Regions from separate parts of the Homo sapiens genome. Here region 2 is linked to region 1. Evidence: promoter capture Hi-C in human tissues and cell types (Jung and others, 2019). All regions are on one chromosome and are shown on one strand. The core of a region is centred on a gene start or on the middle of the fragment in contact, and the rest is flanking DNA. Distances in the headings are between cores, read along the strand shown. Region 1 holds the start of MVD (mevalonate diphosphate decarboxylase). Region 2 overlaps ACSF3 (acyl-CoA synthetase family member 3).

The links. The method cuts DNA at HindIII sites, captures the fragments that hold promoters and counts their contacts. A contact is called where the count stands out against the background at its distance.
Region 2: a fragment that was not itself captured here is called in contact with the fragment with the promoter of MVD in region 1 in 1 of the 25 tissues and cell types used here (mesenchymal stem cells).

What each region holds. Positions count from the first base shown.
Region 1 is chr16:88,660,308-88,666,543 of GRCh38, reverse strand. MVD (mevalonate diphosphate decarboxylase) reads left to right here and starts at 3,453. Exons shown (of 10, transcript NM_002461.3): 1 at 3,453-3,533. The coding sequence starts at 3,464. SNAI3-AS1 (SNAI3 antisense RNA 1) reads right to left here and starts at 3,171. Exons shown (of 4, transcript NR_024399.1): 1 at 3,144-3,171. RefSeq lists silencers at 2,789-2,948, 3,289-3,708 and an enhancer at 3,159-3,208. The HindIII fragment of the contact is 7,255 bases long and covers 261-6,236 here.
Region 2 is chr16:89,112,917-89,119,152 of GRCh38, reverse strand. ACSF3 (acyl-CoA synthetase family member 3) reads right to left here. Exons shown (of 11, transcript NM_001243279.3): 6 at 4,666-4,814. Among named protein-coding and RNA genes, the nearest start is that of ACSF3, 22 kb to the right of the region's middle. RefSeq lists enhancers at 338-632, 4,688-4,787, 3,987-5,186 and silencers at 338-632, 4,298-4,592. The HindIII fragment of the contact is 3,135 bases long and covers 2,401-5,535 here.

The DNA.
Region 1 (6,236 bases), core at 2,204-4,703:
GTTATCTAAAACTTAAAAAAATAGGGCCAGGCACAGTGGCTCACGCCTGCAATCGCAGCACTTTGGGAGGCTGAGGCGGGCGGATCACAAGGTCAGGAGATCGAGACCATCCTGGCTAACACAGTGAAACCCCGTCTCTACTAAAAATAACAAAAAAAAGTAGCCGGTCGTGGTGGTGGGCGCCTGTAGTCCCAGCTACTTGGGAGGCTGAGGCAGGAGAATGGCGTGAACGTGGGAGGCGGAGGTTGCAGTGAGCCGAGATCACGCCACTGCACTCCAGCCTGGGTGACAGACCGAGACTCTGTCTCAAAAAAAAAAAAAAAAATAATAATAATAAAAACGCCAGGCATGGTGGCTCACGCCTGTAATCCCAGTGCTTTGGGAGGCCGAGGCAGGCGTATCACTTGAGGCAAGGAGTCTGAGACCAGCCTGGCCAAACATGGCGAAACCCCGTCTCTACTAAAAATACAAAAATTTGCCGGGCCTGCTGGTGCACGCTTGTAATCCCAGCTACTTGGGAGGCTGAGGCATGAGAATCACTTGAAACCAGGAGGCAGAAGTTGCAGTGAGCTATGATTGCCCCCCTGCACTCCAGCCTGGGTGACACAGCGAGACTCTGTCTAAAAAAAAAAAAAAGAGCAGCCTGGGCAACACAGTAAGACCTCCATCTCTACAAAATAAAAAATAAAAATTAGTCAGGAGTGGTGGCACTTATCACAGCTACTTGGGAGGCTGAAGTGGGAGGATCACCTGAGCCCAGGAGGTTGAGGCTGCTGTGAGCTGATGGTGCCATCGCACTCCAGCCTGGACAACAGAGTGAGACCCTGTCTCTAAACAAAAATAAATTGTTTTTTTTTCTACTGGACTTAAACAATCTGCCCTCCTTGGCCTCCCAAAGCACCAAGCCTGTGTCTTCTTTTTCATCACAGCCGTGGCAGAAGGAAGGAGGTGACTGGAAGCCCCACTCTCTCTGAGTAGCTGAGGGAATACACCCTGACTATAGGCCGAGACAGTCCACATCAGCTCTTCAATAGGATTTAGTGGCTTTGCATAAAATGGAAAAGCAGCTGTGATTGCAAGAGAAATTAAAAATAACCACCATCTGAAATGCAAATTGAAAACAGTGAGACAACACATGTCACTCTGGCAGGTGACCCACTGTGCTGGTGAAGGCATGCAGGCACTCTCAGACTTCCGCAGAGAGACCTGAGTAATCAATTGACTTCCACAAAGGGCGACTTGCCAACAGCTATCAAAAGTACTCAGGCACATCCCACTTGGCCCAGCAATTCCACTTCCAGGAATTTCTCCTGCAGAAATACATGTGCACAAACAACGTAGGAAAGCACTGTTTATAGTAACAACCCAACTAGGACAGACCAGGTATATTTAGACAACAAACAAGGAAGCTTTTTACTAAATTGGGATGATCTCTAAGAAGAAGGTACGTAGAAAAAGCAAGGTGGGAGAACACGCTATGTGCTTGTACTATGCACGTCAATGAAAAAATACACAAAGAATTGACAGGCCAGGTGGAGTGGCTCACACCTAATCCCAGTACTTTGGAAGACTGAGATGGGAGGGTTCCCTGAGGCCAGGACTTCAAATCAGCCTGGGCAACATAGCAAGACCCCCCCACATCTCTACAAAAAAATTAAGAAAAAAATTAGCCGGGCATGGTGGTGTGTACCTGTAGTCCCAACTACTGAGGAAACTGAGGTGGGAAGATCCCTTGAGCCAGGAGGTCGAGGCTGCATGGAGCTTTGATCGTACCACTGCCCTCCAGCCTGAGCAACAGAGTGAGAAAAAAAACAGACTTTTTTTCTATTTCTGGAAAAAAATAAAGAATTTATAAGTATGATGGTTCTGGTAATAGAAGTAGGTGGCTAGGCAGAGTGGACACTTCACACTGCATACTCCCCTATTTTCCGAAATCTGAGTTTTTTTTTTTTTTTTTTTTTTTTTTGAGATGGAGTCTTGCTCTGTCACCCTGGCTGGAGTACAGCAGCACCATCTCGGCTCACTGCAACTTCCGCCTCCTGAGTTCAAGCAATTGTCCTGCCTCAGCCTCCCCAGTAGCTGGGATTACAGGCGTGCACCACACGCCCACCTAATTATTGTATTTTTAGTAGAGACAGGGTTTCACCATGTTGGCCAGGCTGGTCTCAAACTCCTGACCTCGTGATCCGCCCACCTCGGCCTCCCAAAGTGCTGGGATTACAGGTGTGAGCCACCATGCCCAGCCAATCTGAGCTATTTAAAAACTAAAGGTAAAATTTTAAAAGGGGAAGGGGAAAATGGGAAGTCATTGTTTTAAGGGGACAGAGTTTCTGTTTGGGGTGAGAAAACTCTAGAAATAGTGGGGGCGTGGCACATGATTGGAATGAATGGCAGGGAACGGCACGCTTAAATGTTCCTGTACGTTTCACAGGAGAAGTCAATGCACACACAAGCGCCGCAACCCAGTCCAAGGCTTTGCTCCTACAGGGCCTTACAGGGGGTATTTGAGACGCCCACCTTAATGCAGGTTGGACCCAGCTCCGGGCTGCGGGGCTTCCCCGCCCCGGGGTCTTTCGTGTGAGCCCCGTGGCGGGGGATCCTGGCCCAGGACATGGCGCGGAGAAGGCTGTGGGCGGCGGGACAGGGTGCCTTCGGCTGCCGGGTTAAGAGTGGATCCCGGGATACATCCTCCAGCGCCTGCCCTCGGGCCTGTGTGCACCCCCATACCCAGCGGGGCCGTCCAAGAGCTTCAAGGAGGGCACAGCGCGACCCGCCCTCCCCTCAGCCCCGCACACCGTCCCACGGCCCCGCACAGCCTCCCTCCCACACAGCGCCCCACGGCACCCGCACAGCGCCCCACGGCCCCTTCATGGTCCCCGCACAGCGCCTCACAACCCGCACACAGCGCCTCACGGACCCTTTACGGCCCCCGCAGAGTCTCCCACACGGCGCCCCACACAGAGCCTCACGGACCCCGCACAGCGCCTCAAGGTCTCCGCACAGCCCCCAGCACAGCGCCTCACACAGCCCTTCGCACAGCCCCCCGCACAGCTCCTCACGGGCCCCACACAGCTGCCGCACAGCCCCGCACAAGCCCGCACAGCACCAGCAGACAGGTAGCCCCCACAGGCAACAGCGCCCACCTCGCCGCGCCCAGACCCCGGATCGCCGACGCGGACGCCAGGCGCCTGGGCACACGGCGCCTGCGCAGACAACACCACGCCCCAGGCCTGGCGAGCGCACCCTGCGGGTGGGGCGGACCTACGTCAGCAACCCATCGTCCGATCCCGTCCATTGGCTGAGAGGTAATGCGTGCGCCCGACTCGCCGCTGATTGGTCGGCGCGCGAGCAGCCGGGCTCGCACGGGCCAATCCTGTGGTAGCGCGTGAGGAGGCAGAGGCCTCTGGGGTGGGATCGCGGGCCGTAAGTGGCTGTGGAGCTGGGGTCACTGCGCGGTGGGACCATGGCCTCGGAGAAGCCGCTGGCGGCAGTCACTTGTACAGCGCCGGTCAACATCGCGGTCATCAAGTACTGTGAGTGCCGCGGGCCGGCCTGGGACGGGGATGGCCGGGAGCGAGGCCGGGTACGCGGGGGTCGCGCGCTGATTCGGCGGCGCGCTCCGTCCTGCCCTCCCAGGGCCTCGACAGACGGGGAAACTGAGGCTCAGGGAGGGGCGCGGCGGTGGTCGGGCGGGGCCGCGCGCTCCTTCGCGTGACAAGCTCGGCGCCACCCGTTCCCCCGCGACGGCTGCCGCCCCTGCAGGGTCGCCCGGCGCCTGCCCATTAGCGATTACCGAACTATCGAAATCATCAATCATCGATTCCCATGAATCGTAAGAATCCGCCGTGGTGGTGCGCGTTTGTGGCTCCAGCTACTCGGGAGGCTGAGGCGGGAGGATGGCCAGAGCCCGGGAGGTCGAGGCTGCAGTGAGCGGAAATCGCGCCACTGCTCCCCCAGCCCGAGACCCTGTGTCCCTCCCTCGCCCCGTTTCTCCCAGCGGTAACCTCCAAGGAGCGGTAATGGGGGGCCCGCAGGCCCACATCCGTGCCGGGGAGGCCGGTCCGCACCTGTGCGTTCACAGCCCCGCCCCTCCCCTCGCGCCGGGGTTACCTGGCCGCCACTGACCACTCATTTCTGTAACGTCATTTCAAAATGTTCTGAAACTGGAATCGCAGTTATGTGGCCCACCCAGTATCTTTTGAGTTTGGCTTATTTCATTCAGCATAGAATGTGGACGTGCCCCGGGATTGTATCAGTGCTTTGCCCCTCTGTTGCTGAGCCAGTCCGTGGAATCCATGGACCACCCTCTCTCTAGCCAAGGCCTCACCCCGCAAAGAGCATCTAACGTTTTCTTTCTTTCTTTCTTTTCTTTCCAGAAGCCGCCACCACGACTGGCTAATTTTTTTGTGTTTCCCTTACCAATAAAGCTGCCATAAAATGTTGTATACAGGTTTTTGTGTGAACATACATTTCCATTCTTCTGGGATAAATGCCCAGGAGTGCGGTTGCTGGGTCAGATGGTAGATATATATATATGCCTCTCTGTCTCTCTCTCTCTTTCTATGTATATATGTATGTTTGTGTGTGTGTATATATATATACACCTGTATAGATATATGTGTGTGTATATGTATACACCTATATAGATGTATGTGTGTGTATATATACATATATATATTATATATATACTTTTTTTTTTTAAAGAAACTGTCTAATTGTTTTTCAGAGTGGCTGGGCCATTTTGCATCCCTACGGTGATGCAGATTTTCCGCATCCTCACCAGCATTTGGTGGAGTTGCTGTTTTTCATTTTAGCCGCGTCCTGGTAGGGATGTGCTGGCAGGGTGCTGTGGTCCTCATTCGCGTTTCCCTGTTGGCCAGTGACGTGGAGCATCTTTCTTTGTGCTTATTTGCCATCTGTGGGTTTTCTTGGTGAAATCTCTCTTCATATTCTGTGTCCACGCTCGAACTGGATGGTTTGCTTTTTTACTATAAGTTTGGAGAGTTCATTACACATTCTAGGCTGGGCACGCTGGCTCAAGCCTGTAATCCCAGCACTTGGGGAGGCTGAGGTGGGCGGATCACCTGAGGTCAGGAGTTTGAGACCAGCTTGGCCAACATGGTGAAACCCCCGTCTCTACTGAAAAAAAATAAAATATGTATTCTAGATATTAGTCTCCTGTTGGACATGTGGTTTGCAGGTATTGTCTCCCAAACTAGCTAATCTTTTTGTCCTCTTAACAAAGAGCCAGTTTTTCATTTTAAAGAAGTTCAGTGTATCAATGTTGATGTCAAGTCTAAGACCTCTTTGCTTAGCCCTATGTCCTGAAGATTGTCTGCTTTCCTCCAAGTTGTACAGGATTGCCTTTTATATTTAAGTCTGTGATCCAAGGTTGTCCAGTTAGCCCAGAAAGGCTATCCTTCCTCTATTGAATTGCTTTTGCACTTTTGTAAAAAAAAAAATCAGCTGGGCATGTTTGTGTGGGTCTATTTCTGGATTTTCTCTTCTGCTATTTTTTTTTTTTTTTTTTTTTTTTTTGAGACAGAGTCTTGCTCTGTCACCCAGGCTGGAGTGCAGTGGCACAATCTTGGCTCACTGTAACCTCCGCCTCCTGGGTTCAAGCAATTCTCCTGCCTTAGTCTTCTGAGTATTTGGGACTACATGCACGTGCCACCACACTTGGCTAATTTTTGTATTTTTAGTAGAGATGGGGTTTCACCGTGTTAGCCAGGCTGGTCTGAAGCTCCTGACCTCGTGATCTGCCCACCTCAGCCTCCCAAAGTGCTGGGATTACAGGTGTGAGCCACCGCGTCTGGCCTTTTATTTTTATTTTTTATATTTATTTATTTTATATTTATATTTTTATATTTATTTGTATTACTTTTATATTTATTTTTTTGAGACAGACTGTCACTGCGACACCCAGGCTGGAGTGCAATGGCGTGATCTCGGCTCACTGCAACCTCCGCTTCCCGGGTTCAACCGATTCTCCTGCCTCAGCCTCTCGAGTAGCTGGGACTACAGGTGTGCGCCACCACACCTGGCTAATTTTTGTACTTTTAGTGGAGACGGGGTTTTGCCATATTGGCCAGGCTGGTCTTAAACTCCTGACCTCAAGTGATCTGCCTGCTTCGGCCTCCCAAAGTGCTGGGATCGTAGGTGTGAGCCACTGAGGCTCACCAACAGTGATATTTATGGAAACGTGTCCATTTTCTTGTAACGTTCAGAGACTCTGG
Region 2 (6,236 bases), core at 2,719-5,218, 450 kb before region 1:
ATTGTCCATGAGAGCTCAAGGAGTGGCCCCCACACTCCAGGTGCCGCCCGTGAGAGCTTCAGGGAGGGGCCCCCACACTCCAGGTGCCACCCATGAAAGCTTGAGGCAGGGGCCCCCACACTCCAGGTGCCACCCGTGAGAGCTCGAGGGAGGGGTCCCCACACTCCAGGTGCCGCTCGCTGTGCCCCGGGCATGTGACAGTGTGGACATGAGAGCTCAAGAGAGTGGACAGAGGCTGGCCCCGCAAAGGCCAATGTAGATGGGAGCGCAGCTGCAGGCAGGTGGGGGGCACTGCCTTCCTGCCACAGCCCACCTCTAAAATCGCTGTCAGCCAGCCCCTCCCTGATAACTCTGACTGGGGACTGGGACCCAGGGAACGGAAACCGCCAATGAGGCCCTGGAGCTCCCTGTCAATGCCACAGAGTGGCCCAGGAGCCGTGAGCACCTCTGAGCTCAACCTCCAATTAGAGTGTGACGAGGCCCAGCAGTGGTCGGCCATGAATTATTCATCTCCCTCCACAGGAACCGCACGGAGCAGGCCTGTAACCATAACACACGACAGAGCTCACCCTCCACCCAGCTTCTCTCTCTTCCGAGCACGGACAGTGCACTGAGCAGCGAGGCCAAGCATGAGCTCAGAGCCTGTGGCTGGAGCCGACCCAAGGGTCAAGGCCATGGCCACCAGGGTGGGGGTTAGAGCCTGAGAGTGAGGAAAGCTCTCCTCCACCGTGCCCTCTAGAAACATGGCTCAGGAGGCTGCATTTTGGAGTTTTTGTGGGGCATATTGGATTTAATGCTGAGGTGACTTTACTTACTTTTTTCCAAACCAAAGAACTCACACTGCTGGTGATTTAAAGGCAAGGATAAAATCACAGATATTTGATTCTGCCTTAGAGAAGAGGGAGCGTCCCCGGCGCCCCAGGGAAACTGCCGTATGCTCTGCCTTAGAGAAGAGGGAACATCCCTGGCGCCCGAGGGAACCTGCCGTCAGGCTCTGCCTTAGAGAAGAGAGAGCGTCCCCGGCGCCCGAGGGAATCTGCCGTGGGCTCTGCCTTAGAGAAGAGAGAGCGTCCCCGGCGCCCGAGGGAACCTGCCGTGGGCTCTGCCTTAGAGAAGAGGGAACGTCCCTGGCGCCTGAGGGAACCTGCTGTGGGCTCTGCCTTAGAGAAGAGGGAATGTCCTTGGCGCCTGAGGGAACCTACTGTGGGCTCTGCCTTAGAGAAGAGGGAGCATCCCCGGCACCCGAGGGAACCTGCCGTCGGTAGCTGAAGACTCGGGGATTGGTGCACTCAGGTTTCTTGCCCAATAACCCTGAAGCTTCAGGGTCTCTGGATCCCCCTCCTCAGCCGGGGACTCCTCTCCCTGTGCCATCTGTCTGGGGCTCCTTCCTGTTCGCCTAGGAGTTCTGATTCCAGCGTGGGGAAGCTGAGCCTCCCCTGGGTCTCTGGGCTACTATCTGCTCCTTGGCGCCCTCGGTGTGGACGGCGGTCCCTGGGCTGCTCCTTGGCGCTCTTGGTGTGGACGGCGGTCCCTGGGCTGCTCCTGACGCTCTCAGTGTAGACAGTGGTCCCTGGGCTGCTCCTGACATCCTCGGTGTAGACAGCAGTCCCCGGGCTGCTCCTGACTCCCTGGGTGTAGACAGTGGTCCCTGGGCTGCTCATGACTCCCTCGGTGTAGACAGTGGTCCCTGGGCTGCTCCTGATTTCAGCTTCTCAGCCTTGTATCTGTTCCAGTAAAAAAGGCTAGGGGGGCACTGTCCATCTTCTCTAGTGAGGGCCATTGAAGAGGTCACCGTGCTCCTGGGAAGTGCATCACTCACCAGCCGCGTGACCGTGGGCAGGCTCATGGGTTCTTGTATGTGAGTGCAAAATATGACCCCATCGCAGGGGCTGTTTCGAGAAGATCAAAAGAGAGGACGCCCACAAAGCAATGCTGTGGATGAACAGTCATCATGAACTACAAACTGTGCAGACAGATTCTGAATACACAGAACTTGTCCTGCTCACATGTCCGGAACAAAGAGAGGACAAAGCCCAGAGCCCGTTACCCTTTCAGTCCTCACTTGCCTGCAGCCTGCAGCCTCAGCGAGCCGGGCTTTGCTCATTCCGTCCATATTACGTGGTGACTGTGGCCGGTGGCACTGGACAAAACCAGCACATCCTACTAAGAAGGACAACGATAAGGACAGAGACTCAACAGACCAGTCACATTTGATTTCAAGGTCCCCATCTTATTTCCACCAGAGAGCTTTAGCCACCGAAGAAACAGCTGGTGCCGCAGCCATCGTGGAGATGCGCGAGTCAGCCCAGAGCAGGGGCCGCTAGCACTGACGGAGGTGGAGGTTTCCTGGGGTCTGAGACTAACGCGGGAGCCGGCCCAGGGCAGGGGCCACCAGCACTGACGGCGGTTTCCTGGGGTCTGAGACTAGGATGTATTTCTCATCACTCACACTGACTTCTTTTCACAACATGCCCCCACCCGCCCACTGCCCTGGGCACTGTTGCAGCAGGCACTGCACTCTGTGCGGCCACCCCACTGGCAGCTCTGCACGGCAGCTGAGGATCTCGCTGCCATGGCCCTGTCATTCTGCTCAGGATGCCCCAGCCAAACCGAGACTTTACACTCAGAATACACTTAACAGCCCCCATGGCTCCCCAGGCCCAGCAAAGGGGCGTGAGCCTACAGTCTCTCCTCCTCCCAGCCCAGCAGCCAGCCAGCCCTCACACTCACCTTGCAGGCCCCAGCACCGTATCGCTGCCTGGCACCAGCTGGTCCCTGCCTGGGCCTGAACCCCCATGTCCACGCTTACCCTAGAGTCCCAGGAACCAAGCAGGCATGGAATGAGCCAAAGGGCACACGGAAAGCAATGGGACAGAGCAGAGCCCAGGAGCCGACCCCTCAGGAGTCGACGGACTTTCAACAAAGATCCAAAGGGCTGTTCGATGGAGAAGGGAGTCTTTTCAACGAACAGTGCTAAAAAGTTAGACATTCACACACTAAAAAAGAACTGTGGTCCGTATCTCGCACTATGTACAAACATTAACTCAAAATGGATCATGGTCCCAAACGTAAGAGCTGAAACTATTCTCTGTGACTTTGGGCTACGCAAGGATTTATTAGATATGACATCAGACAATTCACAAAACAAATTGATAAACCGGGCCAAAACCTAAAACTCCTGATTTTAAAGACGCTGTTAGGTGAATGGGAAGACAAACCACAAGCTGGGAGATGATATTTAAAATCGCACAGCTGACACTTGGGTCCCGAATTTTAAAAGCTCTCAAAACTCAAGAAAACAAAGGCCCCAGTTGAAAACGGAATGACACGAACAGGAAGAGGTGCTCAACGCCACCCATCATGAGAGAATCATGAACTCAACGAGACACCACCACCGCCCGCTGGAGCAGCAGGTGCTCGTGACCTCCCACCCATTGCAGGGGGAAGGGGATGGTGTAGCCGCTCTGGAGAACAGCTTGAAAGCTTCAGACAACACAGCAATCTCTCTCCTAGGTATCTGCCCAGGTGAAATAAAAAACCACGTTCGCACAGAAACCTGCACACAAATGTTGATAACATCTCACGTGTCATTGCTTAAAACAGGGTCACAAGCGGTGCCGCACCCACACCACGGATGCCACTCAGCAGGGAAAGGCGCGGGCTCTGACGCACACAGCACAGGCAGTTGACTGTGGGCGGAAGCCGGGCGGAAGCAGACAGGCTCAGAGGCCACGTCCTGCAGGATTTAGCCACGTGGCCTCCCAGAAAAAGCAAAACCACAAGAAGAGAAACAGGAACAAGGGGCCAGGCCTCGGGGGTGGAGGAGGTGCTGAGCACTAGGAAGGGAGTTTCTGAGGCGAGGAACCCTTCTCTATTTTGACTGTGATGATGTTTCTTAAGACACACAGAGCTGCACGCCAGAGGGGTGAATTTTTACTGGGTCTGCAGGTAAGCAGCTGCACAGACAGATGTGCGGGATGGTCTCACTTTAAGTCTGCACTGAGATCTCTCTTCTACTCTAGACAGACTGGAAGGGCTGCGCAGAAAGCAGCAGGGTGGCCCCCCAGCTGTGGGCTCTGTTCCCAGAAGTCCCAGCGGAGGACCCAGGGCTCAAATGGTTGGGTCAGATGAAAGTCAGAATGGGATGTGTTAGGGAAGGCTGGACAAGAGGGGCCCGGTATCAGGAGCCCACATCTAGAGAAGGAAGACAGGTGCTTGACTCATCCCACCCTGCCCACCACACCCACCTCTCCTGGCACTGCTGCTGGCGCTGTGTGGCACCCGGACTCCAGACAGACGGAGGCTGCCACCACTGCTGATGTGGTCTGGAGCCAACAGCATGGCCCCCCGCCTTCCTCTGAGACATGCACTGACGCCTGCATTCCAGGCATTGCTGTTCTTCCCATTGTCTCCCCAGTCATACAGCCAGGGGCCAGCACAGACACCTCCCCCATCCACCCGACTGAGACTTGGGAGAAGGCTGATCTACCCAGAGGGGACAGGTCGCAGTGCATCCTGAGTGCTCTCCTGGCCGAGTGGCCTGTCCCACGGGGGAGCATCCTCCATGCCGCCCTTCAGTCCGAATGTGGGTGGTTCGAGACTGGCCCACCTTGGGGGGCTCAGAGCACAGTGGAAGAGGAACGCAGCTGTGGGAAGTGCTCGTACCTGGCAGGCGCACGGCAGTGGTCAGGGGCCCGGACAGAGCCATGCCGATCTCGGTCATGCCATACCGCTCCAGCAGGGTGTGGCCCGTGATGTTCTTCCACTTCTCCAGCACTGGGAGGGGCAGGGCAGCTGAGCCTGAGACCATCAGCCTACGCGGCACAACCAAAGGCAGGTTTAGCCCCTTGGGACGTGGCTCTCGCGTGCAAAGGTGGCAGGTTTAGCCCCTCAGGAGGCGGCCCTTGCTTGCAAAAGTGGCAGCTCCTTCACGAGTGCAGGAGCCCCAGGCCGTGGGTACAGCACCACTGTGCGACACCCGGGACCAACGCTGCAGTCTGCGCTACGGCGTGACTTTGTTTTTTGAAAACGATCTGTTGGGTGTATTTTAGAAGGAAGCAGGTCCAACAGCTAATGAGGGTAAACAATGTGCTTAGGGTCCGCGGTGTCCCCTGCAAAGTTCCTGCGCTGTTCACAACCACGCTCAAGAACAGCAGTGACCGTGCAGCTGCCGACCACGGAGCTGATCACGGGTGAACAGCCACGGCGCTGCAGGCTGCGGCCAGGCACATCCGGGGACTACAGCCGGCTCAGCTTGCAGGCTCTGCAGCAGAACGCGGACATGGGTGAATGGCCGCGGCACCCAAGGGGTGGGGCCGGGCACACCCAAGGGGCTCAGAACCACCCGCAGAACTGCAGCCATCTTGGCCCACAGGGTCAGCTCAGGCTTGGCAGGAGAACACGGGCCCTGAGAACTCCGAGTCCCCGCGCTCTCACACAGCATTTCCCGCAGCCTCACGGGCAGTAGGGAAGGCGCTTTTGTTTGCGGTCTGAGCGGAGTGGTCCCTGCTGCTGCCCCTGCTTTACGAGGAGGCACCACTGACAGGACCCCCGCTGGGAGATCCAGATGGCCGAGGTCTCATTGCCTCTGTCACCCCAGAAATCACCTGATCCTCTCCTTCACTGACCTCGTTCTTGCCCTTGGTTCCTTAGATTTGGTAAAACGTTGTGCTCACCCTGCTCAGCTTGGGGCCTGCCCAGCCCCAGGGTATCCCAGCAGTAGCAGCAGCAAAACCATGGGCTCCGGTGGCCTCACAGAAAAGGGGCAAGGGAACGGCAAAGAGAGCGAAGCGGTTCAGACATGTGCCTTGGACAACCCGGAATTCTCTCCAGGAACAAAGGTGCCGCTTCCCTGTGCACTTCCTGGGGACTGGGAGGAGCGCGCGGCAGCCACAGACACACACATCCCACTGGAAACTGGATGGCAGTGGAGCCTTCAGTTCCTGCAGTGCACCCTCCACGCCACCCCTCCCTCTCACAAAAAGAAAAAATACCCCACCCACGACTCTGCTGGAGGTGCGGGCCTGTGATGCGTGTGAAGACTCACTGAGCCACACGTGTGCGTTTCCAGTTAGTGAACCACACCTCAACAGCCACGAGGGAAAAGAAACGTTCCCACGCCTGCAGGTTCATGGGAGAGTGCAGAGCAAACACGCCCCTGGGTGGCCCAAAAGACCAGCTTGTCCTGGGAGGGAGGGGTTTATCCAGGGAGCTGGGAGGGGAGGAGCGGGGCTGAG